2 separate regions of the Homo sapiens genome follow, and region 1 is linked to region 2. The links are contacts of gene promoters, found by promoter capture Hi-C in blood cells and fetal thymus (Javierre and others, 2016). All regions are on one chromosome and are shown on one strand. Each heading gives the region's core, a stretch centred on a gene start or on the middle of the fragment in contact. The rest is flanking DNA. Distances are from core to core; before and after follow the strand shown. Region 1 has its middle 5.8 kb from the start of WNT9B. Region 2 holds the start of GOSR2 (golgi SNAP receptor complex member 2).

What was found. The method cuts DNA at HindIII sites, captures the fragments that hold promoters and counts their contacts. A CHiCAGO score of 5 or more calls a contact.
Region 1: a contact is called between a fragment that was not itself captured here and the fragment with the promoter of GOSR2 in region 2, in 6 of 17 cell types (megakaryocytes, endothelial precursors, M0 macrophages and 3 more). The highest score is 8.4, in megakaryocytes.

The regions. Positions count from the first base shown.
Region 1 is chr17:46,843,794-46,847,833 of GRCh38, reverse strand. It overlaps a transcript of LRRC37A2 not described here and a transcript of WNT9B not described here. Among named protein-coding and RNA genes, the nearest start is that of WNT9B, 5.8 kb to the left of the region's middle. RefSeq lists a silencer at 2,785-2,950. The HindIII fragment of the contact is 4,291 bases long and covers 1-4,040 here.
Region 2 is chr17:46,920,867-46,924,917 of GRCh38, reverse strand. GOSR2 (golgi SNAP receptor complex member 2) reads right to left here and starts at 1,758. Exons shown (of 6, transcript NM_004287.5): 1 at 1,697-1,758. The coding sequence starts at 1,725. GOSR2-DT (GOSR2 divergent transcript) reads left to right here and starts at 2,047. Exons shown (of 3, transcript NR_186460.1): 1 at 2,047-2,107. It also overlaps a transcript of LRRC37A2 not described here and the pseudogene RNU6ATAC3P. RefSeq lists an enhancer at 1,058-1,782. The HindIII fragment of the contact is 7,846 bases long and covers 1-2,187 here.

The sequences.
Region 1 (4,040 bases), core at 797-3,296, 77 kb after region 2:
CCCTCAGGAACCATCCGCCTTTGGTTGGCTCCATATCTCCTGTGCCTCCCAAGTGGAAATGCGGCTTCCCAGGCTGGCTCTCTCCTCTAATCTCCCTCAAACTGCACTGGAAATGAACTCTGGACCCAACAGGAAGTGGAACAGATGATGCCCCAGCAGCTCCGAGGGAAGGTGCCCATGCTGACCTGACACACAGCTGCCCAGGAGGGCTGGTCCTGGGGAGCCTGGACAGGACTGGTGTGGGTGTGGGCTCACCTGTCCCTCTCCCTGTCCTTCCCCATCCTCCAGGTGACCTGGCCTTCTTGTCATAGCCTTATGATGACTGGCTGAGTCCTGACCACTCCCATCAGTCCTAGCCCCACATACTTGAACTGTATTGGCAATGCCCTTGCAACATTGCACTAGCATTGACTCTGGAGCACTGTGAGGTAGCATGTGGGCCATGATTGTCCCCATTATACAGATGAGGGCACTAAAGTCCAGAAAGATGAATGACTTCCTCAAGGTCATAGAACTCACTGGCTCTCGGGGATGGAAGACTTGATTTTTCTGGAACACCAGACTGAAATAGGACTGAAGCTAAGTGGGGAAAGTGGGCTTCAGAATCCCCTCCAGGGAACTCACAGCCATGCCTGAAAATGACAAAAAAGGGGGCAGAGAAGGACACCAAAATGTTAATAGGGGCTGCCTTGGAGGTTGGGAGTGTGGGGTAAGAAATGTTTTTATCTTCCTTGCATTTTCCTAGTTTTCTATGACAAGAATGTTTGACATTTATAATGAAAAAAATTACTGAAAGTGGGGAGGAGAAAAATACATAACAATACATCTCCAATGGTGGAACTTTAAGCATTTGCAGGAAAGGTATTTGGGAGGGGCAGGGCAGTATTTCTGGACTGGAGTCCTCTGTGACCTTCACTCATCTGTCCTTCTGCGGGAAGGGCCCCTGTCCTATCTTGGGAAGCTCACTCCAGAGCTGGCAGAGCTCACCACTCCCCATGGCACTTCCAGTTCGAGGCCTTCTCACTTCTGTTCCTCCCTCCCTCCCTCTTCTTCCTCACAGAACTCTTTGAATTGTGTTGTGAGGACGGTGTGGGACCCACCTTCTCTTGCCCCTTGCCTATTCAAGGCCATTCTCCAGCCCTTTATCCAGCAGCATCTTTGAGTTCAGCCAAGGCAGGCTGAATGCAGAGAAGCAGCCCTTTGGTGGCCCCCCACCCAGCCATGCTTCTGTGGCCAAGGGCAGCTGGAACCCCACCTTGACTGACAATTCCTGCCTCTGCTCACTCACCACATTGGTTCTACAACCTTTATTGGCACAACTGTACTTTGTGCCAGTGCCTATGTTGATATACACTGTCCTTGAGTTTGGGAGATTAGGCATCCCTGCTATGTGTAGACTGCAGACACCTCAAGATCTGAGACCCTGTCCCCTGTTTCTTTTCTATCCCACACTTCCTCCCATAGTGGTACTGAGTTTCAGCCCACAGTAAAAACATTGTTAAATAACTGAATTAATGAATGAATAACTGAATGAATAAACATTGGACTGTGGAAGGTCAGACCTGACTTATTGATGGCTACAAACCCTGCCTCTGATTTTATAATGTTCATGAGAGACAGGATGAGCCATCTGTACTGAAACGGTTGAAACTAGCAGGAGTGCTTTGAGCAGTCCAGTTCTGTCTAGTAGTTATAGGTAAGTAAGTAGTGACCTGGAGGAGAACTCTCAATTTCAGATAACATGGCCGGGCACGGTGGTTCACACCTATAATCCCAGAACTTTGGGAGGCTGAAGTGGGTGGAGCACCTGAGATCAGGAGTTCAAGACCACCCTGGCCAACATGGCAAAACCCCATCTCTGCTGAAAATACAAAAATTAGCTGGGCCTGGTGGCAGGTGCCTGTAATCCCAGCTACTCAGATGGCTGAAGCAGGAGAATCGCTTGAACTCAGGAGGCGGAGTTTGCAGTGAAAGGAGACCACACCACTGCACTCTAGCCTGGAGGACAGAACGAGATTTGATCTCAAAAAAAAAAAAAAAAAAAAAAAGCCAGCACAGTGGCTCACACGTGTAATCCCTGCACTTTGGGAGGCCGAGGTGGTTGGATCACAAGGTCAGGAGTTTGAGAGCAGCCTGGCCAAGATGGTGAAACCCATCTCTACTAAAAATACAAAAGTTAGCCAGGTGTGGTGGCGGGCACCTGTAGTCCCCAGCTACTCGGGAGGCCAAGGCAGGAAAATCGTTTGAACCCAGGAGGCAGAGGTTGCAGTGAGCCGAGATTGTGCCACTGCACTCTGGCCAGGGTGACAGAGCAAGACTCTGTCTCAAAAAAAAAAAAAAAAAAAAAATTCAGATAACTCACTCCATTGTCCCTGTAAGTCGACTCATGTATGTCAGGTGACATATATGTCCAAGCTCTGTTTGGGCACTGGGCTCACCGTGAATATAACCCCCACCCCAGCCCTGGTTACCACTTCCAGGAGCATAGAATACAGTGAGCTGACCTAGAGACTAGGAGATGGCTGGGCAGGTGGCACGGAGCAGCAGGGCATTCTGTCTTCAACCACCGTGAAGTCCCCTATGGGCAAAGCACTAGTGAAAGACTCTACGTTGGGGTGTTTTACAACAGAAAGGCATTCCACACAGGACATAGCTATGGATACTGCTCAAAAGAAGGAGGAAGGAGACCAGGCACTGTGGCTTACGCCTGTAATCCAAGCACTTTGGGAGGCCGAGGCGAGTGGATCACCTGAGGTCAGGAGTTCCAGACCAGACTGGTCAACATGGTGAAACCCCATCTCTACTAAAAATACAAAAAATTAGCCAGGTGTGGTGGTGCATGCCGGTAGTCCCAGCTACTTAGAAGGCTGAGGCAGGAGAGTTGCTTGCAGCTGGGAGGCGGAGGTTGCAGTGAGCAGAGATCCCACCATTGCACTCCAGCCCTGGGGCAACAAGAGCAAAACTCCATCTCCAAAAAATAAAAAAGAAAGAAAGAAGAAAGAGGAAGGAAGGAAGGAAGGAAGGGAAGGAGGGAGGCAAGAAAACAACTTTCTTAGGGACTAGAAGTTTAAAAATATGCCATAATTTACTATAAATAACATCCTATAGATTTGGGTCTGCACAGAGGCATTCTCAACATCTTTTAGTTTGTTTTCATCTGAGTAAGTTCTTGCTCTCTAAACTCTCTAAAAAGAAGGACGAGAGGAAAGGGGTCCCATCTTGAAGTTCATAGGTGCCTAGAGGAATGCAATCCTTTGCAGTTAGTTTTAGAAATCGGCCACCACCACACCATTTCCTCCAGGTCATATTATCAGAACTGCAGGTACAAATAAGTTTACAGGAAGTGCTCATTAACTGTGTCCTGACTGGTAGACAGTTGGACCATAGCACGTTTTCCTGAACTCATGGTAGGACTGCAGTGGCCCAGCCAGATGTTTTTCTTTAAACAAAGGAGAGACTCGAACCTTGGTTTATCTCTGGGAAGCAGTAAGCTGAGGCTTAACTTATCAAAAAAAAAAAAAAAAAAAAGGTGGCTAACTCCACCTCACTGCATATTTTCTACTTTATATAAAGTATAGGCTGGATACAGTGGCTCATGCCTATAATCCTAGCATTCTGGGAGACTGAGGCAGGAGGATTGCTTGAGGCCAGGAGTTCAAGACCAGCCTCAGCAACACAGTGAGACCCTGCTAATACAAAAAAGAAAAAAAAAATTAGCCAGGCATTGTGGCACATGCCTGTAGTCCCAGCTACCCTGGAGGCTGAGATGGGAGGATTTCTTGAGCATGGGAAGTTGCAACTGCAATGAGCCATGATGCCACCACTGCACTCCAGAGCAAGAACTGCAACAGAGCAAGAACCTTGTCTTAGAAAAAATAATAATAAAGTATGAATACATAATATTCAGTTTAACATACTTTGAATAAGCATCTGGTGCTAAACCCTGGAATAGGAGATGATGAAGTCAGTTCTTGTCCTTGAGGAGCACACAGTTTGTTGGGAAAGACACATAAATAAATACAGAGAGCATTCTGACATAT
Region 2 (4,051 bases), core at 509-3,008:
TCCTTTAACTAAATTAACTAGATAAGACCATACATAACAGATTAACTTCAAGGCACTACTATGCCCATTGTGCCCTGCTATTGTGAAAGATAGGCCCTTTCTTAGTAACATGAACATAATTTCGTTTCATTCTTTCTCTAAATTACTCACAGACTAGTTTTAAGTCCCTTCCTATAACGTTTATGTGAGAATAGGGCTCCCCAGTGTAAAAGAAAATTCTGTCATTACAAAGTAGGTTCTGTATTTTCGCCTGTCCAAATGAAACACCTCATCGCCAAAATAAAAGAAACCCATAAACTTAGAAAATGAAAGAGAAAGAGGATCATCACCCTCTTATTCCTCATGCTTCAGGGCATTTCATTTCCAGGCCTTGGGAGTGTGATTTTAAGTGTTTTAATCAACAAAACTACAGCATAAGTTTGAAAGTTCTCAATAGGATAGGTATATACCTCAAAAAATTGAGAAGAGAAACTAAAACAGATACTTCTACACCAGAGTTCATAGCAGTATTATTCTCAACAGCCCAATGGTGGAAACAACTCAAGTGTCCATCAACAGATGAATGGATAACAAAATGTGGTAGACACATAAAACGGAATATTATTCCGTCATAAAACAGAATGAAATTCTGGTAACAGGCTACAATATAGATGAACCCTGAAAACATTAAGTGAAATAAGCCAGATACAAAAGGACAAATTCTGTATGACTCCACTTATATTAAGTATCTAGAATAGGTAAACTCATAGAGAGAAGTAAAACAGAGGTTACTAGGTGTTCTGGAAGGAAGAAATGAAGTGCTACTGATTAACAGGCACACTGGGATGATGAAAAAGTTCTGGAAATGGATCGTAGTGATGTAAGTTGTGAATGTACTCAATGTCACTGAATTGTACACTTAAAAATTGTTAAAACAGTAAATCTTATGTTGTGTATATTTTACAATAAAAAATAAAAATCATAAAATTCCGTCCCTCCAAAACAGGGTAAAAATCATAATTCTGCCCCCCGCCCCCAAAAATAGGGTAAGTATGGCCCCATTAATACTCAACTACGTATCTCAGCAATTCCGAAAGTGCAGGACGATGCGAATAAAGGACACTACCAAGGAATTTAAGTTATGAGAAACTAAATTACAATTTGATTTTCTTAGCGATAACCTGTAACCAGATACGATTAACAAGTAATAATAGTGAATGCTACGTGGACAGCAATTTCTTTGTACCATAAAAATGTGGTCTTTAGTATAAATCGAATAAGAATACAAATACTTTCCCGTACGTGCCCTGACTCTCCAATTAAACAGTACACTCCTACGGCCAGGGGCCGTGTCTCCTACTCCGTGTCTCCTCTCGAGGTCTACCAACCAGGAGCACCGAGTTGACAAGTGCTGGACAAAGTTTTATAACCTGCAGGTGCCAGTTTCCCGTCACCCAGTCTACCCAGCAGGTAGTCACGAACTTGCAGACCCCAGGAGTCATCTGCCCCACGTCTCCAGGCCCCAGCCTGAACCCACTGTCTGTGGCTGACCTGGGAGTCCCGCCAAGGATTAAGCACTTCGGAGGCATCCCCAGCAGTGCCCTGGCGGAAAAACTCGGCCTCTACCCTGGCTGACGTCCGAGGCCTCAGCCCCAGAAGCCAGGCTCACCTGGCCTCGCCTCGTCTAGCCCCTGCCCGCTCCCCGACCGGCCCTCACTTGTGCGTTTGCTGGAACAGGGGATCCATGTCGCCGGCCCCGCAGGCCACGGCTCCGGCTCTGGCTTCCTCGGAACACGTCCTCACAGCCCCCCTTCCGGTTTCCGGCTTCCGGTCGCAGGACCCTCCCTCCCCTGCCGGCCAGGGCTGCCCGCACGCGCGCCTTACTAGCAGTGGTTGCGAGATCGGAGAAGGGGAAGGAGAAATGAGGCCGGCGACGGAAGGATAAGTGTAGTCACAGGCTCGGCTTCACGTGAAGGGCAAGGCGGTGTACATGTTCGCTGAAGGCTAGCCTCAGGATTCAGTCAGGCGTTAGGAAGGACAATCGCGGGATACTAACGAGAGGTCCTCAGAGCAAAGTTGAAGGCGAGCCGCTATCATCTGCTGTTCTCTGCCGCAGAGAGGACTGGAGGTTCTTGCTTGGCTTCACTTTAAACCATTTAATCGGGGGTCTGGAGATTTCGCTCTTCACTGTTTTTCCTGGCGCAAGCTTTTCCTGTTTCGCATTTGTCTACTCACTCTCCCGCCTATCTACCCCCCATTCCTATTTATCCATCCAGTAAACCTACATTGAATGAGTGGTTATTATGTGTCATGTGTAAAGTAGGGAAAACCGGGTTCCTCCTGCCCTCAAAGAGGTTCTGGTCTGGGAAAGGAAATAAGATATGTATACTCTCAAAAGACAAAATTACAAGAAATGTAGTTATAGATTTTTTTTCTTTATTTTATTATTTTTTATTATTATACTTTAAGTTCTAGGGTACATGTGCACAACGTGCAGGGTTGTTACATATGTATACATGTGCCATGTTGGTGTGCTGCACCCATTAACTCGTCATTTACATTAGGTATATCTCCTAATGCTATCCCTTCCCCCTCTCCCCACCCCACAACAGGCCCCGAAGTGTGATGTCCCCCTTCCTGTGTCCAAGTGTTCTCATCGTTCAGTTCCCACCTATGAGTGAGAACATGTAATGTTTGTTTTTTTGTCCTTGCGATAGTTTGCTGAGAATGTTGGTTTCCAGCTTCATCCGTGTCCCTACAAAGGACATGAACTCATCATTTTTTATGGCTGCATAGTATTCCATGGTGTATATATGCCACATTTTCTTAATCCAGTCTGTCATTGTTGGACATTTGGGTTGGTTCCAGGTCTTTGCTATTGTGAATAGTGCTGCAATAAACATACATGTAAATGTGTCTTTATAGCAGCATGATTTATAATCCTTTGGGTATATACCCAGTAATGGGATGGCTGGGTCAAATGGTATTTCTAGTTCTAGATCCCTGAGAAATCTCCACACTGTCTTCCACAATGGTTGAACCAGTTAACAGTCCCACCAACAGTGTAAAAGTGTTCTTATTTCTCCACATCCTCTCCAGCAGCTGTTGTTTCCTGACTTTTTAATGGTCGCCATTCTAACTGGTGTGAGATGGTATCTCATTGTGGTTTTGATTTGCATTTCTCTGATGGCCAGTGATGATGAGCATTTTTTCATGTGTCTGTTGGCTGCATAAATGTCTTCTTTTGAGAAGTGTCTGTTCATATCCTTCGCCCACTTGTTGATGGGGTTGTTTGTTTTTTTCTTGTAAATTTGTTTGAGTTCATTGTAGATTCTGGATATTAGCTCTTTGTCAGATGAGTAGATTGCAAAAATTTTCTCCCATTCTGTAGGTTGCCTGTTCACTCTGATGGTAGTTTCTTTTGCTGTGCAGAAGCTCTTTAGTTTAATTAGATCCCATTTGTCAATTTTGGCTTTCGTTGTCATTGCTTTTGGTGTTTTAGACATGAAGTCCTTGCCCATGCCTATGTCCTGAATGGTATTGCCTAGGTTTTCTTCTAGGGTTTTTATGGTTTTAGGTCTAACATGTAAGTCTTTAATCCATCTTGAATTGATTTTTGTATAAGGTGTAAGGAAGGGATCCAGTTTCAGCTTTCTACATATGGCTAGCTAGTTTTCCCAGCACCATTTCAAAAACGATGGTTAGATCCCACGAAGTAGGTGGTAATGCCTTAACCGTATGCGTGTTGTCAGGCCCAAGGGCCTCTTCCATCCTTGTCAAAGGGAGTGCTAACCTTCTCTCCTTTAATACAACACAGTTACAGATCTTAACTGGCTATTTGCGATTCTAGCACCAGGCAACACCTTATTCTATAAAATAGAATGAGTATTCTGATGAGCTGAGCAGAGGAGATTATCTTTATAGACAGAAAAGGGCTGAAAAAAAAAAGCAGAAACAAAGAACAAGTTTCAAAGTTATTTTACTTGTATTGGTTAAGGCAGAAGGGACTTCCTTTATCATGGGGATATGGCTATTTTCCCTCTCTTCTGATTTCTCCTAAGGTCAGATGAGC